6 separate regions of the Homo sapiens genome follow, and all the other regions are linked to region 1. The links are contacts of gene promoters, found by promoter capture Hi-C in blood cells and fetal thymus (Javierre and others, 2016). All regions are on one chromosome and are shown on one strand. Each heading gives the region's core, a stretch centred on a gene start or on the middle of the fragment in contact. The rest is flanking DNA. Distances are from core to core; before and after follow the strand shown.

What was found. Contacts are between HindIII fragments. The CHiCAGO score rates a contact against its expected background, and 5 or more counts as called.
Region 2: a contact is called between a fragment that was not itself captured here and the fragment with the promoter of ENC1 in region 1, in 1 of 17 cell types (neutrophils). The highest score is 5.9, in neutrophils.
Region 3: a fragment that was not itself captured here is called in contact with the fragment with the promoter of ENC1 in region 1 in 1 of 17 cell types (neutrophils); the score reaches 5.7 in neutrophils.
Region 4: a fragment that was not itself captured here is called in contact with the fragment with the promoter of ENC1 in region 1 in 1 of 17 cell types (neutrophils); the score reaches 5.3 in neutrophils.
Region 5: a contact is called between a fragment that was not itself captured here and the fragment with the promoter of ENC1 in region 1, in 1 of 17 cell types (M1 macrophages). The highest score is 5.9, in M1 macrophages.
Region 6: a fragment that was not itself captured here is called in contact with the fragment with the promoter of ENC1 in region 1 in 1 of 17 cell types (neutrophils); the score reaches 5.5 in neutrophils.

What each region holds. Positions count from the first base shown.
Region 1 is chr5:74,638,091-74,643,280 of GRCh38, reverse strand. ENC1 (ectodermal-neural cortex 1) reads left to right here and starts at 2,553. Exons shown (of 3, transcript NM_003633.4): 1 at 2,553-2,974. It also overlaps a transcript of HEXB not described here. RefSeq lists enhancers at 854-1,567, 1,568-2,283, 2,745-3,104 and a silencer at 2,445-2,704. The HindIII fragment of the contact is 20,564 bases long and covers 1-5,190 here.
Region 2 is chr5:74,132,659-74,137,848 of GRCh38, reverse strand. No RefSeq gene overlaps it. Among named protein-coding and RNA genes, the nearest start is that of LINC02122, 32 kb to the right of the region's middle. The HindIII fragment of the contact is 5,195 bases long and covers 566-5,190 here.
Region 3 is chr5:74,200,485-74,205,674 of GRCh38, reverse strand. No RefSeq gene overlaps it. Among named protein-coding and RNA genes, the nearest start is that of LINC02122, 100 kb to the right of the region's middle. RefSeq lists enhancers at 3,917-3,966, 3,987-4,056. The HindIII fragment of the contact is 1,364 bases long and covers 1,533-2,896 here.
Region 4 is chr5:74,227,511-74,232,700 of GRCh38, reverse strand. No RefSeq gene overlaps it. Among named protein-coding and RNA genes, the nearest start is that of LINC01335, 78 kb to the left of the region's middle. The HindIII fragment of the contact is 2,243 bases long and covers 1,405-3,647 here.
Region 5 is chr5:74,318,193-74,323,382 of GRCh38, reverse strand. LINC01333 (long intergenic non-protein coding RNA 1333) reads right to left here and starts at 1,796. Exons shown (of 5, transcript NR_197443.1): 1 at 1,526-1,796. It also overlaps the pseudogene RN7SL814P. The HindIII fragment of the contact is 1,130 bases long and covers 2,444-3,573 here.
Region 6 is chr5:74,376,423-74,381,612 of GRCh38, reverse strand. The region is part of intron 2 of LINC01331 (long intergenic non-protein coding RNA 1331); the gene reads left to right. Among named protein-coding and RNA genes, the nearest start is that of LINC01333, 57 kb to the right of the region's middle. The HindIII fragment of the contact is 1,829 bases long and covers 1,711-3,539 here.

The DNA of each region.
Region 1 (5,190 bases), core at 1,304-3,803:
AGATGCTGTGGGATTACACCGTTTGAATTGCTATGATCATAAATTTGCTAACTTGCAAATCATTTTCAGCTGAGATAAGCATTAAAAACTGCCCAACTGCCCGAAAACTAGTCATAGATTGGCTCAAGCAAACCAGAGTACAGTTTGTAGGAGGTCATCAGTAGCACCCATGATTTCCAAACTTGCAAGTTTAGTTCTTGTGACTTTCAGCAGGAAAATGTTTTCCAGTTTTTAGGACTTACATAAGCTAATTTCTTTTCTCTTGTATTGCTTATCTCCCCGAGGCAGATGAAGCGAATGTATACGGTCACTGAATGCATTTCAAGATTTTCCAGTCTACAGCTTTTTTTCCCTTTCTTCTATTGAAGCATAGAAAGTGGCAACATTAGGTAGAAAAGATACAGGAAAGTGGCACCAGCGGATGGTGACACAATGGCCAGCGGATTTCTTTCCTTTCTCAGCCCTGCCTGCTTAGCAAAGTTCTTTGCAAAGGGATCTGAACTTTGCTGTTCCCTTGGTTAAGGACATCCCGCAATTTCTAGGTGGTAAAGATACATACCTGTCCCTAGTTCTGTCGCTTCCTGTGGCAAAATCCCCAACCAACCAGCTGAGCTATGTACATAGTCCATTTCTAGGCAAGGTCATCTAGGTGCCGTTTTAGGTAGATTTGACTCACAAAGGAAGCAGACAGAGTGGGTCTAGGAGGTGTCTAAAAGGTGCGTTGGTGGCTGCCTTGATGAGCTCCCCCACACCTTGCCACAGGCTACAGAAACATGTTTTAAAAAGACATATGTGCAATAGTTACACATTTCCGCCTCCCATCTTTTCAGCACCTATCTCTGGAGTCTACAGAGTTTCCATCTGTCTGGTCTTTGCTTCAGAACCTGGGTGCTGCTTGCCAGCCCTCTCCTAACCTCGCAGCCCCCCTGGCTCTCCATACGTGGTTCTTGACATGAATTGATCCGGGCTGTCTCTGTGAATCAGCCTCAAGCCGAGACTCTGCATTAAAAAATATATATATTGAAAGGTTCGTGGTGAGGCTGCCGAGTTAATGCTAACAAAGGACTTCAGAGGGCACTGTCTTTCTTTGTTTGCAAGGAGCGAAATTTCTCGGCGCAAATACCAGGAAGGAACAAGGATAAAGGAAAATGAAATTAGAATGAAGAACTGACAGTCTTGGTTTCAGCAGTCTGGACTCTGGAAGCGCCATGTGGGGCCTCCTTAGCCAGTTTAAATCGCTCCTGCGCCTAGTGTTTTAAAGCAAGCTGGGAGGCGAAGCGCGGGCGCTTGGGGACGCGGGGACCCGGGGACGGAATAAACTCTGTCGTGGGGCCCTCACTCTCGAGCTGCAGAGCTGGGACATTGTTGCTAAGTGACTACGAGCCAGGCAATTCACATCTCCCTGGGCCTCGGTTCCCCACCTGTAAAACAAGGGGGCTGGACCGGTCATCTATCCCGTTCATTTATAGACTTAGCTCCAAATACCGAATAAAAGACAGATATTTTAACTCCCAGTGGAAAGACAAGCCTCTAGTTGCAAAGATAAATGGGATTCGTAAAAGTGATCACCACGCGAGATTATTTTTCGAATCGCCTTCCCTTCTCCTGACACGCGGGACTATTAAACGTGTGTGTGTGCTGGGCCATTTCTTTACTGAACTCCAAACTAACACCACCGAGCGATAAAAAACAGGAGAAGGTGATGGAGGCTTAATCGCTAGGAGAGGAGGCGGCGTGGCTGCTGCTTTGAGGAGTTCACTTTGAATCAAGCGGCCGCGGCGATTGGCTGAAAAGCACGTGGTGCGCGCCCCGCAGGACTGCGCCCCGGCTGCCCCTGCAGTCGCCTGGCTTAGGGCAGAGTCCAGCCGGGGGTGCCGCACCCACTGGGGAGTGGGGAGGGAGGACACATAGGAAATGCCTGGGGCTGGAGTCTCTTTGGCTCTCTGCCAGCAAGAAACTTAAACGTCCTGGCTTGCTCAACCCGAGTGTCCCTAAACTGTCCAGACTTTTGCCCGTCCATTGCCACTATCTCTCCCCACTCTGGGTGTCCTACCCAAGGCGCTGTCTATGCGTGCCCAGGGCCTGTCCTGCGGATACCCAGCTCGCCCCTTGCAGCCCTTTTTAGAGCATCTCGCGGGCTCTGGCATCACCAAGCGCACAGCCCCGGGCTGCGCTCCCCTAAGGTGGGTCCCTCAGATCCGGGGCTGTCCATTAACCAGGCTGGCCCAAAGAGGCGCAGACACTCGAACCCGGGAAAACTTATTTTATTCTCGGTTCCCGGGGTTGCAGCTGCCAGCGGCTGAGACAGTGCGTCCGCTTTGTCTCTCTGCACTCCCCGCAGCCCCCCTCTCCCGCTTCCTCTCCCGATTAACTCCCCCGACACGCTCTTCTCTAGCTCCTCTCCTCCTCCCACTCCTTCTCCTCCTCTTCCTCCTCCTACACCACAGGCCGCGCTAATGCGCTTCCTCCCTCCCCCGGTGTCGGTCTCTTTGCATACGCGCCCCCTCCCCTCCCCGCCGCGCCACTTATAGCGGGGCGCACGGCGGCGGGGCGCAGACTGCTCTGGCAGCCGGAGAGGAGGCGGTGCGGCGGTGGCGCTGCGGAGACCCGGTCCAGACGCCTGGCGGCCGCCGGCACACAAGGCGCTTTCTAGCTCCCTCCCCCGAGCGCACAGCCCGCCTCCTTCCGCGGCGCCTGCAGTGGCAGGCTTGCTCTGCCCTACCGTGACGCGCTCCGGAGACGCTCTGCGGGTCCTGGACACCGGGTCCGCGGCGTGGGGACGACAGACGGAGGCGAACGCCATCGGTAGCCGGTCCGCGAGCCATCGTTCGGGGCGCAGTCCTCTCCCCGGCTGGCCCTCCTTTCTCCGGGGCATTCGCCACCGCTTCCCTGGGCTGAGACGACCGGTTCGTCGCCTCCTTGCCCGTGACCGTCGCTAGAACTCAGTTGTGCGTTGCGGCCAGTCGCCACTGCTGTAAGTTTCCCCCACTGCCCCGGACCTGTTGCAGGCGCTGCGGGCTTCAGGGGCTGCTTCGGCTGCAGGGGTGTGTTCGCGAGGGGTGAGCGTGCTCCGAGCACTCGGGAGCTTCGACTAGAGGGCAAGGGGAGCTCTTCTCGGTGCGGAGATCACGGTGCCCGCCGCTGCCCTCCCACAGCAGGCAGAAGCCGGGCATCGCCGGAGAGGTCGACCGGCCTCCCCTCCGCGGTGCAATGTCTGGGGCGAGCCGCTGGGGAAGCGAGGAGCCGAGCTAAGGATACAGTCAGCCTCTCTCCTCTGCGGAAAGCAGCGCTTTCCTGGGGGTGAATGTCGCGCTGCGTCGCTCCCCGCAGCCTCCAGGGCCGAGCGCGCGGGATGGTTGGCCCACGTTGCATCCTCCCCGGCTTGGAGGAAAGTTGGGGCCATGCACAGACACCCTGAGTGCGGGCATGTTCACTGCGGCGGAAATGTCTATAGAGAATGAATGAAAACTGCTTTCTGAAAAACTAGTTTCTTGATCTGTCGTGTTAACATTATTAGTTACAAAGGATAGGAATTGGTGGGCCTGGAGATGAAACACTGAATTTATCCACATGCGGTTTGGTGTCACACAGGCATGGCCAGCTTGTTAAATAGCGTTGCAAGTGTTAATAAAAAGACTCTGGCAAGAAGCTACTTTTGTTAACAAGATCTTTATAATGTTCTATTGTTACCGGTAATGTAAATGCCCAGAAAAAAATCTGCTTAGTTTCTCTTTTGATTGGATTGAGATCAGGTTCAAAACCTGGAGAAGGGTGCGGGACGCTAAGCATTGGAGGCAGAGAGCCTGAGTTAGGAGCATGAAGTGAACTGAAGTTACTGTAACTGAAGCCCTTTTGATGTTCACAGTAATAGCAGCCCTTTCTCTGTCTTCTTTGCAGACGTAGGTTAAGTACATGTGTGCATTTTCTTGGCCACTTACTTGGTATGCAAATGTGATTTCTCTGGGGGCTTAAAAATGCTCGAAAGATGATTCATTTTATGTTGAAGGTGTGTTCAGTGACTTGTATACATGGTTTCTGCTGATATTTTGAGGTTTGCACAGTTTTAAACCAGAAAGCAAGTATTTCCTCTTGGGTTTCCAAGTTTACTTTTTATTTTAATCAAACATTGTTGCAAGAATGTTGATTGTGATTTTGACTGTGACGTGCTTTTCCATCTGGGTGGTATCCAAGATGACAGGCTAGGCTCTTCCTTCTGGCTTGTTGGGCCAACCTGGAACATACAGGAGCATAAACACAGGATGCGGAGAGATGTAGATCCTATATCCTAAGGTCTTCTAAGCAAATTGTTTTCTTAGGTGTAAGTCTGGTTGTGAATGTTGTTTTGCACCATCCTGAATTTAATGTTCAAGGAAATGTGTTCTGGGCCTAGCATGATTCCAGCTCAATGTGTAAGCATTTTGGTGCCTGTGCACCTAGTTTCAGGGAGCCTCATTCTTCCTTCACTCAGGGCAGCATTTGCTCTGAGAGAGGCGGCAGATTCACAAGAGTAAGTAGACAGTCTATTGAGGTTTAGGTTTAAAGTCTTCCTCCAGATACTCCAGATTGAATGTACTAATTAAAATAGCAACTACAGTGGTGGAGCATTGAGAATGCTAATGAATGTTTTAACCCTTTGGAAACCTGATGCATTCCCATAGGTTCATATGGTCATTCTCCAAAACACTGGGCATTGGTTAGAATGGAGTAGACAGTAGATGCTTAGCTTGAGGTGGGAGTGAAGCTGGCTCCTCACCATTTTTTATATCTCAAGTCACTGTGGAAATTACTGGGTGCTTTGTAAAGTCTTCCTAACACTGGAGCTCTAGGACTTTGTTGCTTCCTTTCTTCCACTCAGCCATGTTTACTCATCATAAAAAATTATATTCCAAAAAGGAAAGAAAACTAGTTGCATCACCTAATGGTATGAGGTATATGTGTCATGCCCCTGCCTTTGTGGTTTTCTGTGCAGTCTTATAGTGGGGCTCACATCTGGTTGGGGAGGTGCAGGTTAGTATTTTAGCCCATGAATCTGTGGCAAATCATTCATTTGCATTTATTAATAATTCTTAGAATATGCATTTAAAAATGTCTGAATGGTTAAAGGAAACAGAGTTTCAGCTGCGCTTTTGGGACTGGCTGTTATGTGTCTGGAACAGATACTGCAACCAGCCACACAGTTTACCCTCTGGG
Region 2 (5,190 bases), core at 1,914-4,413, 510 kb after region 1:
CATCTTGGAAATATGAAACATACAATTAACATAGTGAAAGCCGAGATATTCAAAGGCAACAATAACTAAAACTGAGACAACTATCAGTACTCATTAATCACATAAATAGAAATACAATTTCTTGATAAGACATTACTTCAAGTCACATAAGAATTTTTATGTGTAAATTTTAGTATTCTATGTAATTACAATGTGACTTAGCAAAGCTGTATTTTAACCTGCTTCAGGAAAATCACATTTCGAAACCTGAGAGTAAAGTTTTTCCACCTCACCCTAACCTATGTGCTCCTGTAAGGCAAGCGGGGACTCCCATCTATCTCACTGACCTCACTTTGGACCTAAGAACTTAAGGTGAGCACCCCATGCGCAAAGACTACTGGACCGTCCTCAAACTGTTAGTTGGGTAGGAGACCCCTTTCCTGCCATGCTATGTATGGTAGACCTAGATGAAAGATTTGTTGTCTTAACTCAGAACTGATGCTTGTCTTTGGCAACTTAATTGTGTTTGCAGAGAAGTTTATGAAACATGGGTCCCTTTCTCTTCCTAAGCCCTCATGGAAAAGCTTCATATATTGCGCTACCAAGAAGTCTTATGGATTCAAAAGCTAGCTTGGGGGGTCTTTGCATCCCTCTTGACTGAAGTAGTTGAGTGCCTCTCAGTAGCTTAGGTGCTGAGGGAGGAAAATAGAATCCTATGATCCCCTTCCCTACATTTATCTTCCCATAATTAAAGCCTCAAATTCCTCATATTGTAGGATTCAACTGCATACTTTCTTGGGGGAGATTTTTAAAAGTTACTTACAGGTAAATGGTTTGGAGACATAGAATGTCATGTATGACTTCAAAAAATATTTTTAAGAGGCTTTTATTTTTTGACTTTGTCACTGACGGTATATGGGCTGCTTTACTTTTGACTCACTTCTTAGAAGTTCTGCTCACTTCTGGGTCCTTAGATTGCAGTCTAGCTTCTGTCTGAAGTCAACAATGTCTCTTTTAAAACAACCATAATAAGTCAAATTTTTTCCATGGATGTGGAGTTGGCAGGGGGGTGCCTAAAAAGCAGAGGGCAGTTCTCTGAAAAGCAAGGCACATCCAGATTTTCCTGGTTGGAGTCCTTCTTTGGAAATTCTGGCTCCACTCTGTGCATGCTGGAGGACAATTTACAGCAGTCAGTAAGGCAGCCAGAAAAAGTTCAGGTTTTCTTTCCTATGTATGTACACAGCATGATCACTTGGATAACTGAAGACTATTTTTTCCTTTTGGCCAAACTTGAACATATAAGAAAAACAAGTGGAATTTAAAAAAATCAGTGACCAAGTCAGCAATGAAAAACAGCTCTCAGGTGGCAGGTTGGCAGGCTGCCTTGTTCCAGGCGCCAAATATGGAGGGATTGACCAGGTGGCAGCTGCCAGGCTGTTCCCCAAAATGGGACAATCTAAAGAGTACAGTTTGATCTTGGGGCCTGATTCTCTTCTCTAAGCTGCAGCACAAGCATAGTCGGGGTGGGCTGCAAGATAGCTGTTGGGGACATTATGATTCCACCTTGGAATCTGCTCAATGCCAAACCAACTGAGTGCACCAGCAAAGCCAGCCCCAATTTGCACTTCTTATCATATATTCTACAAAGTTCTTCTGAATATTAAGCAAAAATTCATAAGACCCTTTTATGTCACGTGCCACTGTCTTTTCCATTGGGCCAGAAAGGGAAGTGTCTGTTTCAAAGTATTATGTGAATCAAATTAAATGACACTACTTATCCAAAGGCTAGTGTCCCACAAATTGAACCATCCAGCACACTAATGAGAAACCAGAAAGAACTGAAGAGTTCTCAGTACCTAAAAATTCATATTACATGCTGCATGCACTGAAATTTATAAAAAATGAATCGTGGATGAGACCCTGTGCCCTTGTTCAGAGCTTATGCTGTAAACATAATTCTACTTGTTTCATTGGTTTGGAATATGAGGACAAGGAAAAGAGAGGAGCTAAAGAAGATAAGTAGGCATCAACTGCCAGAATGTAAACTCCATAAGGGCAAAGACTTGCTCTCTTTGTCCACTGCCAAAGTCCCAGGACTTACATTAGTGTTGGTCACAGAGTGGGTGCTAAGTACTATCTGCTGTTAGTTAATGAGAGCAAAGGAAAACATTGGCTTTTAGGGACAGTCAGCTAGAGAACCATAGAAAAAAGAGGGAGAGGAAGCAGAAAGAGGGGGACCTCACAGAGCACAGTAGTCTAACAGCTTAAGGGAACATGAAACAACTCTACTTTGAAAGTGCTTGATAACATCATTCTTATAGCTTAGATAATGGTGGTGATGATGGCTATTTATCAAAACCCTAAATCAAGACATCAAACTGAATAAGTCAAAATGCTTTCACCATCCTCTTTCCAAGGCACAGAAAAATGCAAAATATTTGAAGTATTTTCCAAAAATGTTTGTAAATGTTTTAAAACCTAAGTTTAAATTTTTACATTCACAATGTAAAATACAACTTGCCCAAAGACAGCAGATATAGCTAATTAAAAAGTTATATTACCAAAGGCACATATAGTACCTGTTACATCATTGACTTGTATATAGTGAAAAGGGTCACACCCCCTGACACACCCTTAGTATTTTGTACAGTGTGGCCCTATGTAATATGGCTGACCTCTAAGAGGTGTGAACAGTGCTGTGTCCTACAAGGGACTGAAGGTTTCTCTGAACATCGCATGTATGGAGCAAGTTCCTGAATTTCTTTGAACCAATGTGGGATATCATGTGCTATCAAAAGCCAGAGGTCTGGAAATGGAGGAAATTTCTCAATGTTAAATTATAGGTTGAGCTGGTTTTGATTTTTTGCTTTGGGCTTTGCTTTCTCTGATGAATGCTAATGATACTTGAAAGAAAATTTTAATAGAAAAATTTTTATGTTAAAAAAATCTGGTTGGGCGCAGTGGCTCACGCCTGTAATCCCAACACTTCGGGAGGCCGAGGCAGGCAGATCATGAGGTCAGGAGATCGAGACCATCCTGCTCTACTAAAAACACAAAAATTAGCCAGACATGGTGGCGGGCACCTGCAGTCCCAGCTAGTCAGGAGGCTGAGGCAGGAGCTTGCAGTGAGCCGAGATTGCGCCACTGCACTCCAGCCTGGATGACAGAGCGAGACTGTCTCAAAAATAAAAATATGAATTATTTTGAATCCCTGGAATGAATTATTTTGAATCCCTGGAAAGAACAAGCAGACATTAACATCTAAAAACCCCCCTAGGTTCTGTTACAGAACACAGAGGGGCAAATATGTGAGTATTGTCCTCAGTTTACCAATAAGTCTTGGTTTACTAACAGTTTAGGAATATCTCAAAGAGTCAGTCGCAGGGCAATGTGAGGGGAAGCACAGTACTAAGAAACACATTTCCTAAATAGCAGTTTGATATGAGTTTTGCCTATATATATCCTAAAAATATCCCTTGGAAAATCTGAAAAATCAAGCATTTATTTGTCCGAAATTGGAGTGAAAGAATGGGTGAGCCTAGAGGACCCCCGTGGGTGAGTGGAGCAGCCTCTCCAGGCTTCAGTATTTCCGTGGTAGGGAGGGGAGAGTGGGGACTGATTGGAAGCCATTTGTCTAGGAACCTGGAATACTGGAAAATAAAAGTGATTGTGGGCATCTTGGAAGTGGGATCCTGTCCCCTAACTGAAAGCGGGAGAGAGAGAGAAGGGCCTTGGTGCCAGGACCATAAGGATGGCTGCAGAGATTGTAGGCCTCTGTTCCCTTACTCTGCCCAGTGCCTTCTTTCCTCAAGGGAAGTGCCTCACACCACTCCATATGGCCCTGGAGGGGCTGAACTTGGGTTCTTTCTCGTCTAGTTTGAGATTTCCCAGAAGCAAACCCTGAGACAAGGATTTGAGTGCAAGCAGACACTGGGAAGAGTGGAGACCTGACGGGAGTAGGAAGAAATCCAGTAAAGGCTGTGTCTTGAAGCTGGTTACCACTGTGAGCAAGGAGCTCAAACCTGCTGGGGAAGCCAGGGGAGCAATGTAAAGCATGAGGCTATCGCTAGCCCAGACGAGGGCCAAGAAAGTTGGGGTCTTTATACACCAACTCCCTGGTGGAGGGCTGATCCCAGGCACTTCTGGCCAATCTTGCAAACAGGCCAGACAGCAGAGCCCTTAGGCAAAGAGACATGGGGCTGACACTTGGATGTGTGGCAGGTGAGCACGAAAACAGGAAAGAGTAAGGGGATGATGTTGGAGTACTGACAGCATCTTGCTCCACCCACTCTCTTCCCCTGCTAGACCCTGGGTCCACTAGAGCACAGGCGATTGGGCTGGCTTGGGCACATGACCCATGCAGTGCCAGAGCAAGTCCTCTGGTTTCTGTGCATGGAAAGATAGATGCTGTCTCACCACTGTGGTTGCTGAGTGAGACCATGTCAGCCTAGAGTTGCTGCTTATGCACCTTCCTTGGTCCCATTGGAAAGCTCAGTTGCAGGAGGAAAGAACGAGGCCAACAGACAAAAGAAAGATGGAAAACGAGAGAAAGAGAAGACAAATCACTACATGATTTTCATCTGAACCCTTGAATCCAGCTTTACCTGAAGCCATCTTCACTTCGGAGTATCCTAAATATGAACCAATACATCCCTTTTGTCTTTTTGCTTAAGCCAGTTATTTGTAACCAAAAGAGTTTGGCCTAATATAGGGATGAGTGTCTCCTGCCTTTTTCTTCCTCTGCAACACACACAGAGAAGGGAGTCTTTGGTATATCGCTGAATTACATACCTGGAAGAAAACTGAGCCAGCTACCTCTAATCATGTCATCTGAAAGTGGTTAAGTAGTGTGTCCTGAATTGAAAACAGGGGGCAGGGGGGACAGGGACACTGCACTGTGACAATGAGTCCCCCAAGGAAGTTAAAGGATGCCCTGGAAAGGAATTGAGAAAACACCAGATTCCATTCTGAGCCAAAGCAGAAAAAATAATTAGGGATTATATTCAATTCCCTGATTGTTGAGAGGACAGAGCTGACATAGCCAGTAGGAAGGAATTAAGGAAGAGTAGAGCAAGGCCTTGAATCAGGCAGAAGGGGCAGGGCGGGAAGAACTGGGGTGCACATTGCATGGGGAGCAGCACTTTTGCAGGACGTGGAGATTCACGCATAGGACAGCTGAGAGGCTACCCAGGGCCACAGCCCCAAAGGCCG
Region 3 (5,190 bases), core at 965-3,464, 440 kb after region 1:
ATGAATTTTGGGGGACATAGATATTCAGTCCATTACTTGGAAGCTGTTTACCACCTCCTCAAAGCTGAGCCAAACTAAGCCTCCCCAGTTGAAGTGGCCAGCACTCATGGGACTGAGTTTCTGAGAAGTGATGGGACTATCTTTGCATCTTCTGCTTCCAACGCTTTTGGATGTTTCTGTCTTAGTCTATTTGGGTGACTATAAAATAATATTATAAACTAGGTGGCTTATAAACAACATAAATTAGTTTTTTACAGTTTTGGAAGCTGAGAAGTCCACAATCAAGGTGCCAGCAGATACAGTGTCTGGTGAAAGCCTGCTTCCTTATACGTGATGCCTTCTTGCTGTGTCCTCACATGGTAAAAGAGGCACAATAGCTCCCTGGGACCTCTTTTATAAGGGTACTAGTCCCATTCACGAGGGCTGCAGCCTTATGACCTGATCATAGACCCCACCTAGTAGTATCATCACATTGTGATTACATTTCACCATTTGAATTTTGGGGGACATAACATTCAGCTATAGCAGTTTTCTTGCAGGGAAGGGGCATGAAAAAGAGGCTGAATGGGCAGTTACAGGCAGGAGCTGAGACGATAGCAACACCCATAAAACTAGAGGACACAAGCTTGGGTAAGGAAACAGAGAGAGCAGGGTTGGGGTGGTGGAAGGGAAAAAGAAAAAAAGGCTTACTGAAGATCAATTCACCAAGAAGGAAAAAATAGTTGGTGACTTAACTCTTTGTTTCTGGACTTATTATTATTATTATTTTTAATTGACATAATTGTCCATATTTTGGGAGTACAGTGTGATACTTTGATACATGTATAAAATGGGTAATGATGAAGTCAGGGTAATTAGCATATATCACCCCAAACATGTGTCATTTTTCTGTGTGAGGAACATTCAAAATCCCCTCTTCTAGCTATCTGAAAATACATAATACATTGTTGTTAATTATAGTTATCCTACATTGTTATGGAACCCTATAACTTATTCCTTCTACCTGGCTGTAATTTTGCACCTGTTTACCAGCTTCTGGCTATCTCTTTTTCTGAAAGTTCTGTTCAGAGGGTCAAAGGCATAGCTCACCTACCAAGGGGGTAGATGCACACTACCTCCCTATCTCTGTCTCCTAACCCTGTGAGCTTTACATCAGATTTTAGAAACTGGAATGTTGTCTCCAGAGAGTATGGCTCAGGATTTGCCTCCCTTGGGTCTCTGCAGAGAATGGTATGAATTCCCACTTCCATCCAAGTCTCCCACCCAAGCCAGAGCTCCTTGCTTCAAGTCTAAAAATACATTCCTATTGCACTTAAAATAAGATTTTGCCTTCACACTCTGATATTCCCACTTCCGTTAGTACATTCGGTAGTTGGGATGATAATTATATTCAATCTTCTTAAAGATAGATGAATTGAGCTTCACTCCAGCCTAAGGTTCCCATGTGACCTAGCATTAAACCCTGGCTTTACTCCCTGATTTATGCCCTTACCTTATAGATATGGGCTATTTTCCCCACAGGATCATAAGCTTCTCCAAGACAAGGAATAGGTCTTATTCGACTTTGGATCCCAGAACACAGCACAGTGCTTGGCACTCAGTAAGGGGCCAGTGACATGCTGAACAGAACTGAAATCAAGTTATTCTGATATAGCCCCTCTGGAGACCATTACACATATATCATCATGGGTTAAGAATTCAATGAGCTAGGTCACAATTCTGTCTTGCCAATATTGGGAATGTGTATATATATATATTATATATAATATATATATATATATTATATATTATATATTTTATATATATATATATATATATATATATTTTTACCCGATACAGATACTGAGAAAAAGTTTGGAGACCAGCTGTAAATAGAGTCAAGAGCATGCATATTCCTTCAGACTGCTGGGCTCCTCCAACTTCCAAGGGTCCAAGGCAGAGCCTGGGTATCCCAGGCAGCTACCCCTGAGGTGGGTATGAAGAGTCAGAGGTCAATCCCTTTGGAACCCAGGCCATGAAGCTGGGGAAGGTGCCCAGGTTGGAGTCCTTTCACACTGCTGTGAGCCAGGCTTTCTGCTGTCTTTAAACCTAGATGATTCAGGCTGCTGGCCTAGCCCCTCCAGATTCAAAGGCCCTTTGCCTGGGCTGGAACTGTCCTCACCGTCCATGGGTCATTAGGACGCTTCATCCTTTCATCTAGCCAACCAACATTTCCTGGACGTATGTTGCCTTCCTGCACTTCTGGGCCCAGCTCCTGAAGAGCTTGTGGCCGTGGTGGCCAGGAGGTGCAGGACCTCCTGCTTCTGAGACTGACCTCTTCCCGGGCTTTCTTCTCTGTCCAGGAAGGTGCCTATGCCCCTGCTGTGTGTCAACTCTGCTGTCTCTGCAGCCATCTCAGGAGTTCAGAGAGCTCATTTTCCCTCTTCTTATATCAAAGTTTCCTGTGTGTTAACAATGAAAGATACCAAAACTAGCTAATGAAAATTGTGGCCTAATATTTATATTTAAGAAAATGATTCATTTAATAAGAAATGTCACACTTTGCTGATGTTTATACACAAAACGCTATTAAAAATATTGGTCTGAAACAAGACATCAAAAATTTTGTAGCAAAATAATATAATTTAAAAATTGATAAAACAGAATATCATAACTATTATGATTTAAATCATTGTTACATTCTGTTCATAATCTATTAATTCTAAAAATAAACCAAAAATGGCCCATCACAGAAGGAAGTGTCACACAATATAAATGGGCTAATTACAAGATAATTTTAGGAAATGTAGAAAATATTAATTTATAGTGCCTTAGAGACAGTCTGGGTCTGGGAATTTAAAATTGAATGGTGACATCTTTCCATCCTCTAATTTTATCTCTGCTATACCCACAAGCTTAAAAGTTGAGGCTTTCTGTGACTGTGCGGCATAAGAACAATGGGTTTTTGCCCCTTCTTTGTCCCCTGAGATGGCATTATAAATAGGCCCTGCCCCCACCAACCCTGCCTCCAGGATGGCAGCCTGTGAATGCAGAACGCCTATAGCCTTCTAGCCGTGTCTGTGGCAAGGGCATGTGCCAGTGGGGAAGCACGAGCTTTGGACCTGAGGACATCTGGGACAGCTCTTGGTGTCAGTGCTCCACCCATGCCTGGGTCCCTCTACCATTGGCAAGCACCTGTCTAGTCTCATCCCAACAACCAGCTTCTGTTTCTCTTAGCCAGAGAATTTCCATGCTGTAAATGACATCAATGACTGCTGGAACCAATATGTTAGCAGAGTAGGAACATACCTGGAAGTTTACATTTTGCTGGGAGGTGTCCTCAACTAAGGACCTACTGTTGCAGGGGTATAAATATCCCCGCTGTCCTGCCTCCTGACTGGATCACTCTAAAGACTGACATTGTCTTCAGAGCCTACTTTCAGGCCTTTCCCTGACATTGCCTGTTTACTTGGTCTATTTCCCTTCCTGGCACCATGATTTGTGATGTGAGTGCTAGAAGAGGATTCAGAATTTGATTTTAATTACTCTTAGTGTCATCTCCTGACCATGGACATCTTAAGTGGTTTTTGTCAGTGTTTACTTTGAAAAGAGAAGTCCTGTCTCTCCCAGGGCCACTGTCTTCAGAGCCTCTGGGTTGGTGACAGGCTGCTGGGGCTGGGGTTCCCATGGGGGAGATGAGGCTGAGCCCAGAATGAGAATCAAATGGCCCTGCATTCAGGAAACTCTCAGAATTTGTCACCTTATATACAATATCTGTAGTCAAATCCAAGTGATTCATTTCCTTTTTCTGAAGCCACAGAGCTATAGGGATCCACTCTCATGCTTCCTCCCTAGCCGTCTTCATTTTCCTAGCCTCCTTCATTTCACTCACTTCATTCTTCCTAAACACAGTGAGATTCTTTTAGGTCAGCTGCCCTCAGCCTCTATTCTCTGGGGTCTTTAACATCTGCTTTGGGTTGCTACTTCAACTCCTGAAGAACTCCCCTTTGCTGTTAATTATAAATGCAGGTGGTATAAATAACCATTTGAAATGAGTCAGAGATGACCTGATAAAGTCCTCTGCATTGAGCAGGCTAGATGGCGCTGGAAAGAGAGGCTGGGCTGAGCAGGTGGTAGGAGAAGGTTCCCTTGGGTACAGGAAGTGGGAGTGGGAGGGCCGTGTGCCCAAGTGGAAAGAGCATTTCAAGAACAGCTTTGGCTCAATTGTGGCCGCAGAATCTGGCAAGCACACCACAGGCTTTGTTGCCTTCAGTGCCAAAAGCCAAGAAAACCAGCCCTTGCTGGCCTTGGAGCGAGCAGGGAGAAGAAAAATCCGAGGAATACATTGTCTGACTGTCGCCGTGGACAAGTGTTCCCGTGCAAGCAGATGACCTCTTTCCCGGAACAAAGCTCCATGTTTTAATAGCAGAAATCTCCCAGAAGGAAATGTCAAGGTAAACAAGTGTTGGGGCAGATTATACAGCGGACTCCTCCCGTCTAGAATTCTCTTTTTGGAAAGTGCTCTCTGAAGGGTTGTAGCCTCTATAGCATGAGCCCCCACAAAGATGGGTTTCTGTCCTCCAAGGAAAAGCATGTCAGGTAATCCCTGATGGAAAGGGGAACTTCAGAGGAACATAGGGATAGAGCTTTATTCCCAAGGGCAAAGCAGGCGGTGGCACGGAACAAATGCATGGGACCTCAGGGAGCCCTTTGTTTAGAGTAGCACTGAGGTGCCTCTGTCCCCCTAGCCATTGACATAAAGGTCACAAACCCGCAGCATGACTTTCCTTCCCCTCTTTCCACCAGGATTAAGTTTAGTCTCAGGTCATGACTTCTAAAGTGCATCTGAGATACACACCACCTTGCCAGGACCAGATGCAGGTCAAAGAAGGGTCAATGAAGCAAAATCAAAACCAGAAGGTTTTCTATTTCCTTCAAGGACATTAACAAAGGGAGCACTGTTGCCAAAGGATATAATAGCAAATGTCAATTAGTCCTGGAAGCACATCTTACATGACTAAACCTGATGCTGTGTGGAGGCCACTCTTAACCCTCGCCACCACTGTATGTACAGAGCACATGCTGCACCTGTCAAGTCACCCTGTTTGCCCAAAACATTAACTGGCCCTTCCTTTGTTCCTACTAATCACTCCTAATTCTGTGTGTTGCAGCTGTATTGTCAGGCCCTTCCCTGCTTTATTTCTTAGGGCA
Region 4 (5,190 bases), core at 1,277-3,776, 410 kb after region 1:
GAGGATTTGGAGGAGTTTGGCCAAATGAGAGAGGCGTGCTTAGCCACACTGGGCTGTACTCCCAAAAGCCCTCCTTCAGAATTCTTCAGGGGCAGCATCTGAGTCTCATACATAATGAAATTGGTCATGTAGCGGGGAAGTTCACACTCAGCAATGTTAATGGAATGAGGCTGGACCAGCTGGTTGGCAGGGGGGTTTCCCCTTTGGGAGATGCTACTGTGATTCATATGTGTGGGTTGACTACAAAGAAGTTCTGAGTAGGGAAAGGAGGGGACAGGAGAAGAAAAAAGAGAGAGAGAGGGAGGACAGGGATGGGCAAGTTAAGACACCACAAAGCAGCAAGCATTGAACAGGACAAGGGCTGTCTTTGTCCTAGGCATTCTGGGGGCACAAAGGAGAATGGGACATAGCCCCCATTGAGAAGCTAAGCTTTAGGCCAAAGGCTTAAAGACAAAGGCACAGCTTCCCGTGGGATGAGAAAAAGTACCCCCAGGAAGGGCAAACCAAGACAGATGGAATCACTTTTACAAAAAAAAAAAAAAAAAAAGAAAAATACCCAGACTGTCCAAGTCCCACATTTTATATCTAAATCCTAGCAAGGCCTGGAAATGCTAATGATAAAAATTTCGCTGAAAATACACACATTTCTATCTACTTCTCAACCTGGTAAACAGGGTCCTTCGTCATCTATTCCTTTCTTATCTCTCCAGCTTCATCACTCATCTCTGTACCATTTCTGCTCCATTCTTAGCCACACTGAACTGTTTCCTTTTCTTTTAATAGACCGAATCACCCCTGCCTCCCGGCCTTAGTCACTCCTGCTGCCACCTCTGGCTGGAGTTCCCTCCATGCTAAGTCTGCCCCACATCCCCTGCTGCTACTTGTCCTTCAGATCTCACTCAGTCCCTGCATCAGCTCCCCCAGGAAGCCTCCTCTGATCCCCAAGGCTAGGTCGGGTCTCTTCTTATATGTTATCACAATATTAGGTATATTTCCTATCACACTACTTGATAATTTCTTGTCCATCTTTCCCAGTTAGTTCAGGTTCCCTCTGTGGGGTCTCTCCTTGTGGGCTAGTTTGCACTTACTCACTGTGGCTTCAGAGCCGTCAGACTCTTACCTGGAGGACCAGGGATTCAAAGGCAAGTGTACCAAGAGGACCAGGAAGAAGCTTGGTGCCTTCTGATAACCCATCCTCTGAAGTCACACAGTGTCACCTCCTCTGTAATGCCAAGAATGCCCAGATTCAAGGGGAGAGAGCACAGACCCCACTTCTCCATGGGACTAGGGTCAAAGTCACATGGTAAGAAGAACATGTGGGACGGAAGATATTGATTATCTCTAGAATATACCCATGTGCCACACCGATGTTTCAGTGACATTTATGAGATACATTATAAAGCTTTTATTCCCTGTAAACACCTATGTGTTCTGGATACCTGTGAGTACATCTGAGGCTCTTAACACTCAGGATCTCTGTCACAATTCTAGCAGAAATCTCATCATTCTTTCAAAGCTATTTAGCACACACAGCGCTCAGTCTGGAATCTGAACTGACTCAGGGTATGTACTAGCCTATATTCCATCTATGAAATATACCACAAAACATGCAATCAATAGTGTAGCAAATGTCATGAGTGGTAGAAACCATAAAGAAAAAGACTGACAAGTTTAACTACAGACAAATTAAAATCTTTAGAAGTAAACCAAATTGAGAAAAATTAAAACTGAGAAACTTTTGTAACATTATGAAAGACAAATAATTGGTATTCTTAACACGAAGAAATTCTGCAACTAAATTAGAAAGGATAAACAGTCCAACAGGAAAAATATGAGGATATAATTTCTTTAACAAAAGTAATAATGCACCATTTTATATTTGCCTATCAAATAAAAACAATGAGTCACCATTTCATTTTTGCCTATCAAATTGGTAAAGAGTAAAAAGAATTCTAATGCCCACATTGTCTGGAGCCTGGGGAAATGGACTCTCACACACCGCTGGAGGAAGAAACAGTACTTTTCTGGAGAGCAATTTGGCAATAGGTGTGGAAAGCCTTTGAAAAGATATGCCCTTTGATCCAGCAATTTTTTATATGGGGGTTTATCCCATGATGGTAACAGGGCATGAGCACAAAAATGTTTGGACAGAAATATTATTTTCAGTATTGTTTATATTAGAAAAATCTGGGATTAACAGGGTCAAGTAACAATGAAATACTTTGCCACTTTAAAATTTATTTCATATTTCATATATTAGGTTGGTGCATGTATGTATATGCATATATATATATATTTATATATAAATTTTTTTCCACAAATGCAAAGGCATTTATAATATATTTTTAGGTGAAAGAGCATAGGATAGTTTCAAAACAGCAAATATGTAATTCTATATATGTGTATATGTGTATATCTTTAGGAGAACAATAAAAGGATGAAATGCCATACATCTAAGTATCATCAGAGGCTACCTCTGCAAAGTATGATTATGGATGGTCTGCTATAAAGTCTTCTTAATCAGTGCATCTCACACGGTTTGGCTGTGTCCCCACCCAAACCTCATCTTGAATTGTAGCTCCTATAATTCCCGCATGTTGTGGGAGGAACCCAGTGGGAGATAATTGAATCATAGGGGCTGTTTCCCCCATACTGTTCTCATGTAGTGAATAAGTCTCACAAGATCTGATGGTTTTTATAAGGGGTTTCCCCTTTCACTTCGTTCTCATTCTCTCTCTTGCCTGCCTCCATGTAAGATGTGCCTTTCGCCTTCCGCCATGATTGTAAGCCACGTGGAACTGTGAGTCCATTAAACCTCTTTCTTTTGAAATTACCCAGTCTTGGGTATGTCTTTATTAGTGGCAAAAAAAGGGACTAATACAGTATCCAGAGCTTTCTTTGAAATGAACCTATCCATGCTATTTTTAAAAACTCTGAACATTAATGTGACCTTCACCTTTTTCCAAATGTCTGTTAAATTACACAATGGATATATTCTAATTGTAAAAGTTCAAGCAATATAGTAAATATAATAGCATAAATACATAATTTATATTAATGTGTATTATATAATATATAGTATAAATATAAATATGCACTATAAAGGAAAATCCTCCTTTACCGTTATTTTTCAAAGAAAAAAATTAGGCCAGCTTCCATCCCTCACCATTTATAAACACAACCCAGACTTAGTTAAATGCACACCAATGGATTTAGTATCTGAACACAATTTAATAACTGACTATTATTTCAGTTTAATGGGCCCAAGTCGGGAAACCACACAGTCACGGAAGAGGCAGGGCCCAGCTAACTCCGACTAGTGTGCCCATGATGAAATGCCTTTGCCCAGGAGAAGCACTGAGAAACTGGGCTGGTCATATTTTAATATTCCACCCAAGGAGTGCAAGAAGGTAACCTGAGGCATGGAGAGCTCCACCCAGGGCCCAACCCTGGTTTTTAAAGGTGGGCTGTGGTTCTGAAGGCCAGACCAAGGGGCATTGCTTAAATGTCAACTTTAGGAGTGAAATGTGTTCTCCTAAGGCTGTTGATGCTGTAAAAGTCCAGCCAAATTGCACTTTTGATTAGACCTGAGCTGTTTTTATAAAGCTGTGACAAAAACCATTAGTAAGTAAGACTTAAAGAAAGCTTTTATTTCTTCTCATTTATCCCCCTTGCCTTCACATTTACAAAGCTTACAAGGAAAAAAGCCTGCCAGCGTGAATTTCCTCTGTTTCACTATTGCCTGTGAAAAGCATTTTAGGTCCACCGGTAAGAATCTGTTTGTGTAGGTAATTTCTTCTGAGGAAACTTGGATTTTTTTCTGCCTACTGATTGCAAAGGAATGACTTGCATCTCATAAAAGATACAGGTTTGATCATTAGAATCCCTGCACGACTTCTCCCCTTTCTGTGCCCCGATCCCTTAGTGCGTATACAGGGCATAGTCAATTTCTCTGTGCTTCATTTTCCTTGAAATGAGATAAATACAGAATACTCTGGTGATAGTATTGGGAAGAAAGAAACATTTTCTAGAGGTTTCTATTACATTACACATTACCCAGAGACAATGGGGCAACTTAAAAGAATGAAGACATAGAGAGGTTTACAAGAATTTTGGGGAAACACTAAGCAATTAAGCAGAAAAACCTGTAGAACTACAAAGCATTTTACTGTGTTCTGCTAGTATCAAAAGTCTATTTTTGCTTATACTATTAAGTACTTTGATTTGTTGCTTTAGCTGATATTTTCTAGTGCTACCTGTCAAATTATAATGATTATTTTCAAGAATCCACTACCTCTCTGCATTTTAAGCAATACCTATTGTAGATATATGTAAGCTCTAACATAGTCAAATAAGACCATAGGCTCTTCCCAGACCTATCCACCAGTTCTGAATCCACATAGATCAGATAATATTTTTAAATGCTGGACTGACTGACTGGCCCCCTCTGCTACTGGAAAGATTATAGGGTGGTGCTAAAGAGCGTGAGTTTGGAGCAGAGGCTGGAGTTTGGGTGCCAGCTCTGGCGCTCATTCACTTTTTCCTTTTAGCAAGTTCCCTAGCCTGAGTCTGTTTTCTCATCTATAAAATGGGATGATAACACCTATCTCACAGAACTGTAGGAGGTTAAAATAAAATCATGCATAGTAAGCTCTTAGTCCAGTGCCAGGTAGGGAGTACCCATCTTATAAGTGTATTGGAACCTCTTTCCCATACCACAATACAGACGTCGTTGGTCTCCTGTGGTTTGCAAAGCCATCTTCCACTCATCTCTGCTTCTTGCCATCTTTCTGCAGCTCTACGAGATATTCCCTCAGGACACGGACCAGTCAGTACATGTCCCCTCTTTTTCCTACGCTTTCCTACTATTTTGTCTTTTTCCTACTATTTTGTCTTGGATCCATTCTCCCTCCCAGATAGTTAACCTCATGAGGGCAGAGAATTGTTTGCTATTTTGCGTACAGAAATATCGGAGAGCATGTCCTTGGACTTCTGACAGGACATAGAATGGAGGGGTGTGGAATCGATTTGCTATAATTCACAAAGGGCAGGGTTTCAAACACAGATGGAAATGGAGGCCCAGAGAGGGAAAATAACCTTCCCCAAAACATAGAGCCTCCTTTTGCTGAAGCTGGAACAGGCGTCCCTCTGTATGGCAGTGGGATCCCCATGTTGCCTCTCTGGGCACCT
Region 5 (5,190 bases), core at 1,759-4,258, 320 kb after region 1:
TTCAGAAATTTACTGGGGAATCAGCTATAAACAAGGGTTTGTATTTTGTATAGTGGAAGGAATACAAAGAAGTAAAAGAAATAACCCTACCAAGAAGGAGTTGATAGCTACTAAGAAGGAGTACACTTTTACAAACAAAGTAACTGACCTGCAGAAAGAGAACCTGCAGAAAGTGCTAGAATCAGCCAAGAAAGTGCTAGAATCAGCCAAGACTTCTAATTGGCAAGCCGAAGCCCTCCCCATAAACAACCCCCTACTGGTTGAATACTGAGGTGACACACTCAGTTGCATCAGCTCTAAGATTCAGGTCAATGTCTCTTATTATTTTGAATGGCATCTGATTATAGATTAATACGTGTTTTGTCTAAGGTTACCTTGAAGTGTCTTCGTTTGTCCTCATGGAAGTGACTGAGCATGCTTGATTTTTTTCCATGTTGCTTAGCTTTCAGATACAAATTAAGCAATATATTGTATTCCTTCTGTCTAACCATGTGGTTGGTATAATTTCTCCACAGACAGCTGAATTCAACAGCCTGTGTGTAGTGATTCAACATAAGTAAGGACAAAACGGTAGGTGGTAAAGGTTGTCAGAAGGACACCTGGGCCTTCACTAGGTGCTGCCACTAAAGCCAGGCCATCAGATATGGCAAACCTCAGGGTGCTGCCAAATCTTACAGACCAAATTCTTTTCACCTGGGAATTTTACCCATTCATCAGACCCAATATTTCTCCTAAGTCAGGAGACACGATGAGAATTTTATCAAATCAATTCTGCAGTTAGTAACTTGACTACCATCTAGCATGTTATTCTAGCCATCTATCCATTTCTTCAAATCATAGACTATTTCAGGATATTTCCCCAATCATACTCGGATCTCAAATGATAGGCTGAACTCACTCTGCCTCTTTTGAGTGACCACTGTGCTCAACAGAAGCACTGATGTTACCATGGTTTCCTTAGTGACAGAGATATTACAAAGGGGAGAGTATGGTTGAGGAGGCAAAGCATGAAAGGGAAAAGGGGCCTTGATATTCCTGTGTGCAGAGTGCTAGCCAGACTTCACTGCCTCACACTGGGGACAGTTGTCCAGCTCATGAAAGATTGCTGTCAGGGGATAAAAGCCTCGTTTGGCTCACTTAAGATTTGTGAAGTATGTTCTGTGCATCAGGCATTTTACCATTTTAATTTCCAGAAAAGACAGCTAATTTTTCCTGTGCATCTGGGATGTTCCCCCAGGATAGCAGAGATGAGAAGGCAGTTTTGTGGTGCCACAGTTGTATATGGGCTTAATTTGAAATGATTAGTTTCATTAGCCTTGATATTCTAATTGTATCTCTACATTTCACCATCTTGCATAGAGAATATGCAAAACAAAGGGCTATTGAGCCAGGGTTGGAAGGAGCCCTGATTTCGATTGTTTCTCATTTTCCTTTTGGTTTTCAATAGAAATCAATCCCTAGTGTTCAGTAAGGCCTCCGAGCCATTGGAGCCATTTAGCAGAGCCCTGCTAGGGTGTGCGCTTACCTGGACAGGTTCCTGACTAGTCATCCACTGCTGTCAGGACTTAAGGATGATGCTTATCAAGGTTCTTCTTATGCTGCTAGAGAAACTGCCACCTATTTCTCAGAGATTCTTTCCTGGGTAGAGGTACCTAAATGTTGCCCCAAGTTCCATGGAGTGTGATAGCCACCAGATTTGACTTCAATAATATTCTTCATCTCAGAAGCCGGGGTGACTGGGCAACTTGTAACATTTTGTGTTTGTAAGGTGGTGGGATTTTATAGAATAATGAATCTTCACAGAGCCCTGGGTTGCTAGGGAACCTCGATTTAGTTCCACTTTGGAATGAGGAAAATATGAAAAGAAAAAGAGAAGTAAATTTCTTAGAATTTCCCCACTCATGTTTCAGTGCTGATACAGAATTCCAGAATGACTGAGTATCCTAAGCCCATGTCAGTTATCTCTCAAGGTTGAAAGGAGAAACCCGGCGAAAGGATAGGGCAGTAAAAGAGAACTGAGGTGGCTGTTTGAAAGGGGCCATGTCTCCTCGGAGACACGTGTCTCTCTAGGAGGATCACTATACCGCATTGTTTCTCCATGGCTCTCATGTACTCTTTTGAGACCTTAGTGTGCTGTTTCTAGATCAACAATTTATGATATTTATTGAGCACCTGCAATGTGTCCAGCTTTGTGCTTGGTGATGTGAAGGCAAGAGATGTAAGGACCTGGTTTCTAATCTTCAAAAAAGTCTACACTGTGGTTGAAGTGGTGAGGTTTATTCAACTAAATTAATTTAGAAACTATATCAGATAGATAACATATAGAAGCTTATGCTACCTGTTTGCGGGTCAGAGGTTCCTTTCTTGCCATTGGAAAAGAGAAAGGAGAGAAAACACCAAGTGTCAGAGTCACTGGGAAAGGCTTCTAGAAGGAGGAAAAGCTTAAATTGTGGAAAAGAATAAGAAAGTCTGATAGGTCCCTGATATTTGTGAGCTTCTAATTACACCAATATCATGATAATTTCTTCCACAACAGAAACACAAAGAGAGTTTTTGCCTCCGAAATGACAAGCAGAGAACCACAAGGCAATGTTGAGATGCAGAGGGTGGCAGTTTCCCTCCTAGCAGAGTGACTCACTCATGCCTCCACTCCAGGGTGCAGGGCTTAGATTCATGACAGGTAAGAACAGGCCATAGGCCTTACAGGTGGCTTTCGAATACATGAAACCAGGGATCTACTGTATTTCAAGATGGGGAGATTTAGCATGAGGCACAGAGGTGAGACTGGTGAAGAATCTGTTCCAGCTAGGATGAAAGTTCGTGGAAGGAAGCAACAGGAACAGGGTCTGCTCGTAAAGGGTATTGAGGTTAGACCCGGTGCAATGATTCAAGAGGAATTCTTATATCTTATTGGACAAGCTAAAGATACGGGATAAGGGCTGTTTTAGAAACACTTCAATGGGAGTGGCATAGGAAAGAATTGGAGGGGAAGGAAAAACTAGAATCAAGGAGATGAGTTAGAATGTAGATTTTATGAGAGGATGGAGATTGCACTGGCAGAAAAGAAAGGGCAAGTCAGCAAGATTCTGCAAATAATAGGCTTTGGTGATAAATTTTCATAGACTATGAGGAAGGAGATGAAGAAAAAGGAGGGTAAGAAAAGACGGTCTTAGCGATACTCCACAACTTCCCGATACTCCGTTGTCTAAAGTAGTTTCTCCACTGTGCATGTGTGCTGGGTGATGCTTCACATGCAAAACACTCCGTGGGCCCATGGTTGTAGTTCTCTTTTTTGAAAAATTACAAACATTTAAAATTGTGGTAAAATGTACATAGCATTAAATTGATCATATTAGCCATTTTTGAGTTATACAGTGCGGTAGTGTCAAATACATTCATATTGTTGTGTAGCCAGTCTCCAGAACCGTTTTCATCTTGCAAAACAGAAACTCGGTACCCATTAAACAACAACTTCACATTATCAACCACCCCTCTCCTTTCTGTCTGTAACTCTCATACAGTATTTTTCCTTTTATGACTGGCTTATCTTACTTAACATCATGTCCTCAAGCTTCATCCATATTGTTGTGTGTGTCAGAATTTCCTCCTTTTTTAAGGCCGAATAATATTCTGTTGTACATATGTACCACATTTTGTTTATTCATTCATCCACGGGTGGACATTTGGGTTACTTCCACCAATTGGCTATTGTGAATAATACTGCTATAAATGTGGGTGTTCAAATATTTCTTCAAGACCTTGCTTTCAATTCTTTTGGGTATATACCCAGAAATGGAATTGTTACATCATATGGTGATTCTATTTTCAATTTTTTGAGGAGCCACCATATTGCTTTTCAGAGTGGCTGCAGCATTTAACATTCCCACCAGCAGTGCACAGGCATTTCGAATTTCTCCATATTCTCACTTTATTTTCTGTTTTGTTGTTTTTCGTATTTTTTGCTTGTTGTTGTAGTCATCCTGATAGTTGTGAGGTGGCCCGTGGTTGGATTTTGAAGGTATGTCATTCCACTCACTGGGTGTAATTCTGTCTCTTTTTCTGTCATTTAAGAAAACACACTGGAATACATGAGTTTATGAATGACTTTGAAATGGTGAGAATATTGAGTCAGCTCTAGTTTGTCTTTTGTAATGGAACTCATTCTGACACCTTGGTATTCTATCATGAGTAACAACTTATTTGTGACACTCCCTATGACTTACTGAGACTCATCAGTGAGTCCTGACGTCACAGTTGAGAACCACTCCTCACTGAATTGAGTTTACAATACAAAATATTTCTTCATAAACACCCAATGAAAACAGCACGTTCCCCCCGGAATCAGTGCTACCAAAAGTAAGGAAAAAGCAAAAGTAAAAAGGAAAGCCAGTCATGTAACAAGATTTTATTTCCTCCCAAGTGGCTTTATCAGAGACACTTATCAGAAACAATGCCTCTCTCCATTTACAGAAACTCTGAAATCCAAGGTTTGAAACCTGAGGCCGAAGTACCTATCACTCCTCTCTTAGGTAGATGGTTAGTGGTTCCCACCTGTCCGACTTGGTCATGTGGCAGCATCTAGAAAGGCAAAGCTATAACAATGAACAAGAGTGTTTTCTTTTTTTTTTTCTGAGGTTTCATTTACACCAACAGGCTTTGTTCAGTTTAAGGAAAAAAAAAATTTTTCCAGCAAGGAACTTACATCTGTAGAACTGCTGTAGACACTTAATAAGTAATCTAAGTACACAGTAGCTTCTAAGGCCCCTCAAAGATGATGAAAAGCTGAGGATGCCAAATGCTATACCCCTAGACTACTGTGGAATAGAAAAAAGATAGATCTTTGGCCAGAGATTCTGGTGGCAACTTTCTCCCAGCAATTTCTCCTCAAGGCCAGGGGGAAGAAAAAAATATACATAGAGGGTGTGATATCAGAAAGGCCAAGAAAAATACCCCAGTGTATTTTGTGTCTGGATGATTCCTGATATTGTTCTACTTGAGTGCTTTATCCCTAGTCAACAACTCTTTAAGTAGTTACAATAGAGTGGGTTTTTTTTTTTTTTTTGTCTTCAGCTCCAGTTTGAGTGTTTTGTTTTATTAAGAGACCAGAGTCTCGCTATGTTGCCCAGGCTTGAGTGCAGTGGTTATTCATAGGCACAATCCTGTTACTGATCAGCATAGAAGTTTTGACCT
Region 6 (5,190 bases), core at 1,376-3,875, 260 kb after region 1:
AGATGATCCTCCCACCTCACCCTCTGGAGTAGCTGGGACCACAGGCATGTGCCACCATGCTTGGCCAATTTTTTTTGTGTGTATTTTTTTTTGAGCCGGGGTTTCATCATGTTGCCCAGGCGGGTCTCAATCTCCTGGGGCCAAGCGATCCACTGGCCTTGGCCTCCTAAAGTGCTAGGATTAGAGGTGTGAGCCACTGCACCTGGTCCACTAGTTTAGCTTTTATCCTACAAAACTGTCTTCAGTTGAATTATAACAATGACTTACATTTGAATTCTACTGTCTAATTTTCACAGACATTATTTCATTCAATACTCCTGTGATCAAGACTTTTTTTTTTTTTTTTTGATACAGAGTTTCACTCTTGTTGCCCAAGCTGGAGTACAAAGGTGTGTCCACCTCCCGGGTTCAAGTGATTCTCCTGCCTCAGCCTCCCGAGAGCTGGGATTACAGGATCCCACCACCATACCCAGCTAATTTTGTATGTTTAGTAGAGACAGGGTTTTGCCATGTTGGCCAGGCTGGTCTCCAACACCTGACCTCAGGTGTTCCTCCCACCTTGGCCTCCCAAAGTGCTGGGATCATAGGCATGAACCACTGCACCCAGCCCTGTCATCAATACTTAATTGGAGCCGGAAAGGAAGGTATCATTAACTCACTGCTCGGGCATGGAAATTAAGAGAAAAGTAACTTGTCCAGGCTCACAGGGCAAGTTGGTGGCAAAGTGGGGACTGCAGCCAAAGTCTCCTGGCTCCTAGTACAGTGTTTTCTATTGGAAAAAGCAGTGTTTAGTGATGCTTATTAGCTATTGGCATCCTTCATGAAGATGGTAACATCTCTGGTCCATCAGGAGGGAGGTACATTGTGCTTTCTTCAGTAGACACTCATATGTAGGTTATTCTTCAGTTTGTAACTGCCCACAGCACCTGTTATGCCAAGTTATTCTTACCTTGCCTGCTGGATTTTCTGGACAACCCATAACCTTTGCTAGAAAGAAGCCTGCACGTGTTCTATTTCTGGAGCTTCGCTAGTCTGCCAGCAGTACTCAGGTCCCCAGGGTACCTACCTATTTCAAGTTGCTTGAAGGTGTGCTTCTGGGCACCTGGGAAGTGCGTTGGACCCCTAGAATGTACCTGCCCTGGCTGATACTTAATATGAAAGCTGCCTCGTTACTACTGTCCTTATCAGCTCAGTACCCAGGGAGGTGTCCAGGCCTGGACATTGCTCCTCAAACAATAGTTTGGTTTCATTCCAGGAGCTTTTGTTGTTGCCGTCTTATTGGCTGTTATTTGGAAAGCTTAGAGATGAGGCTAGTTTAACAAGTCAAGAGTCGCTGTGAAATATCTATTTTGCTGCCCTGTAAAAACAGAATACATTCTCTGATTTTGACTGTGGTGAGGAGCTTGATGCTGGATTGATGCTACAACAACTTCAAAGTACTGGCTTTCTTGAAGGTACAAAGAGTTGAAGCTATCACCATTTAGCTTTTAGATAATCTGCACATTTTGTTCTTCCCTGCTGCTCAATTGCCAGAGTTTAATAAGGATGCCTTAGAACACATGATCTCTCCTTGCAGTTTAAATCAATCACCCATTAATTGACACACAAACCTCTCTAGAAAGAGCTCATCTTCTTGGTTTCTGGGAATGTGACCTGGTTCTCTGTTCAGGTATAGGGTCACCTTTGTTCTCTCTGTTTGTTTCCCAAGCTTTAGGTAAAACTTCTAACCAGGCATGGTTTGTCTTCAGCTCTATTTAATTTGTTTCAGAGGCTTCTAATCTACTTTAGATCTTTCCCTTTCTCCCTCCAAACTTCAATTTGAGAATGAATTCCTACTGCAATAATATTAAGGGTGGGGCCTTTAGGAGGTGATTAGATCATGAAGACTCTGCCCTCATGAATGGGATTCGTGCCCTTATACAAGGGCTTAAGGGAATCTGTTTGTCCCTTTTCGTCCTTCCATCATGTGAGAACACAGCATTTGCTCTTTCTGCCACGTGAGTTTGCAGCAAAAAGGCACTTACCAGACAGCAAATGCTGGTGTTTTTATCTTGGACTCCCCAGCCTCCAGAACTGTAAGAAACAAATTTCTGTTTTTTATAAATTACCAAGTCTAAGGTATTTTGTTGTAGTAGCAGAAATAGACTAAGTCTCATTCATAGACCCGGTGCTTTCCAGCTGCTCAAAATTATTTGCTGTGCAGTCCTAACTGGGTCCGCATTTGATGGCATCTGTGGGTCATTACAAGGTTTCTTTCCCTCTCAAAATTCTCCTAACTTCTCTTGGAAGCCCTGCCCTTTCTGTTTATAATAAACAACTTCTCTTTTAAAAAAAGATAGCCATTATGATGATTACTATCAACACTATTATACCACCACCATTACCCCCTACTCTTTGCCAAGCCCTGAGAACACACAAAAATATAAAAAGACTCTCTGCCCTGGGAGAGTTTCTAATCTGGGTGCAGGAATATAAACACTATTGATCACAAGTCAATTCCTGTCTTACTTCTAGGATAAAATGCTTATGCATTCCAATAGGAAATATAAGAGCATGATGCCTTAGCCCATGGTACTTTTGAGAGGCCAATGAAGAGATATTCAGAAAAGGCAGGGACCCTGAAAAAATCATATCACATCAATGGGTATCTACAAAAGCCTACCTTTAAAATCTTCTCTACCACCTGTTTCCAGCTGATGGCCCTGTGATTGTCCATAGTAAAACCACACAGGGTGTATTTGGGGGTGGCCTTTTTTGTTGTGGGGGTGATTCTGTGAGTGTTGCTGTAGCTCACCCTAAATTACTCATGTCCATCCTAAAGCACAGCGGAAGAGATGTACATGACTGTCAGACCAGAGCTTCTGCCAAGCAGAGGCAGGATGCAACAAGACACTTGAAAGCAGAAATCTTCCTGTTTCTGTAACATTTCCAGCTGGAAAACCAATCAGAGCCACACATTCCAGCTACACTTGGGAAACACTGAAATATCCAAGTAGTAATCACCTAGGTATGCTGCTAACTGCAGCTCAAAATAATTCTGGGGTTGCCAGTGCCATGTACCTTGTAGGCTTCCAATTACCTGTGCTCACTTCTCTCTTTTCTCCAAGGACCAATTATTGGGGGAATTTGGCATTTCTCCTCCTCTCTGCTTCAGCCATTCAAAGAAAGATTGTTATACACCAGAATGTCTGACCATTTTAATTAAGCCAGTCAAAGGTAGGTGCTGAAACAGTTTAGCCCCCGAAGCAAGGATTAAACACTTAAGGTTGAGGAACATAGAGGTTAGTTAGTGTCAAAGAGTTGGAAGAGACCCTAGAGTAGGATGACCATACATTTCAGTTTAACCTGAAAGCCCCTGTCTCGGTGTAATTATTATCACTTCTTTTCTCTCAAAAGTGCTCAGTTGGGACAAAAATGATATAGCTACTTTGCCTTAAAGATTATCTAGTCTGCCTTTCAGTTTGGTTCAAATTTAATGTAGAAATTATCTTTCTGTGAATGATGGAGACTTGGGAGATGTAAAAAAATAAAAAAAAGCTTTTATTTTATTTAAACCTTAAATAAACCTATTTATTTTTATTAAAATCTTTCTGTTTTCTCTTCCTTTCAAACACATGGTCATCTGTTTGCTATTAACCACCAGTAATGGGGGACTCATACTTTGCAAGGAATCTCTAATTAATGAGTTCTCAGTTCTGCATCAAAATCTTCCTTCCTCTGGCTTCACCCTTTGATTCTAGTTCCTTCTTCTGAAACAATCTAGAGTAAATTTCTTCTCTCTTCCACAAAATATTTTCCATTTTGGTATATTTGTGGTGTCTTTTTCAAGAAAATAATCATGTTTACTTCACTTCCTTTTTTGAAATTCGAAGGAAACTGATCTGATTTTGGACTGAGATACCTTATTTTATTTTTTATTTTTTTGAGACAAGGTCTCGCTGTGTCACCCAGGCTGGAGGGCAGTGGTGTGATCAGAGCTCTCTGCAGCCTTGCCCTCCCGGACTTAAGTGATCCTCCTACCTCAGCCTCCCGAGTACCTGGGACTACAGGAGCATGCCACCATGCCCAGTTGATTTTAAAAATTTTAGTTAGCAAATAGCTCTTGCTATGTTGCCTGGGCTGGGCTGGTCCTGAACTCCTGAGCTCAAGCAATCCTCCCAACTCAGCTTCCTAAAGTGTTGGGATTGCAGGCATGAGCCATCTCGCCCAACTGGACTGATATGTCTTAAAGACAAAAGCAAGAATTTTGCTAAGCTCTATTATAGAACTCCTAGGTACATGCCCAATTGTTTGGAGATTGTAGGTAAGATCATGCAGGAGTTACCAACAAAATAACAATGCCAGCATCCTGTAGTGAAAACTTCTTTATGACATTGTTTTATGAATGCAGGTGAATGACCTAGATAATGTCTCTAAAACTTTACAGGCAGGACATAAGCATAACATGAAGAAACAAGGCTCTCTTTAAAGACTATTCCAAGCTAATGATGGAAGCAAGATTCATAGGTTTTGTTTAAAAAGAAAATGTATTTTATTATTGTAAAAATAACACAGGATGATTGTTGAAGATTTACTACACCTCAAAAAAAAGAAAAAAAGAAAAAGACTACCATCAGAGATAATATTCCATGTCCAGTTGATTTTTAAAAATTTTTTGATGTACGTCCTTTTTTTCTTTTCTCTATGTGGATATACTTGATAAATAATTTAACAAAATAAGAATCATATTGATATAGAGTTTGCTCTACTTTTGTATTAATATTAGATAACAATTATTCCACTGCACCATTAAATAAGCCTTAACATTTGATTTTATGGTTTCAAAAGACTCAACAATATATATTTTGTACTTTTCCAAACATCTATTGTTAGAGATTGAGGTTATTTTTAACTACTCCTCTAATGCTGCAGGCTACATCCTCAATCCTTGCCTGCTTCACTGATTATTTCCTTAGGATAGACTCCTAGAAGAGATTCTGGTTAAATAATTTTATTAGTTGTTTGGGGTGTCATAACAAAATACTGCAGATCTGGTGGCTTAAACAACAGAAATTTATTTTCTCACAGGTCTTGAGGTTGGAAGTCCCAGAACAAGGTGCCAGTCCTGGTGAGGGCTCTCTTCCTGGTTTGCAGATGGCAGCCTTCTTGCTGTATTCTCACACGGTGGAGGGAGAGCTCTGGTATCTCTTC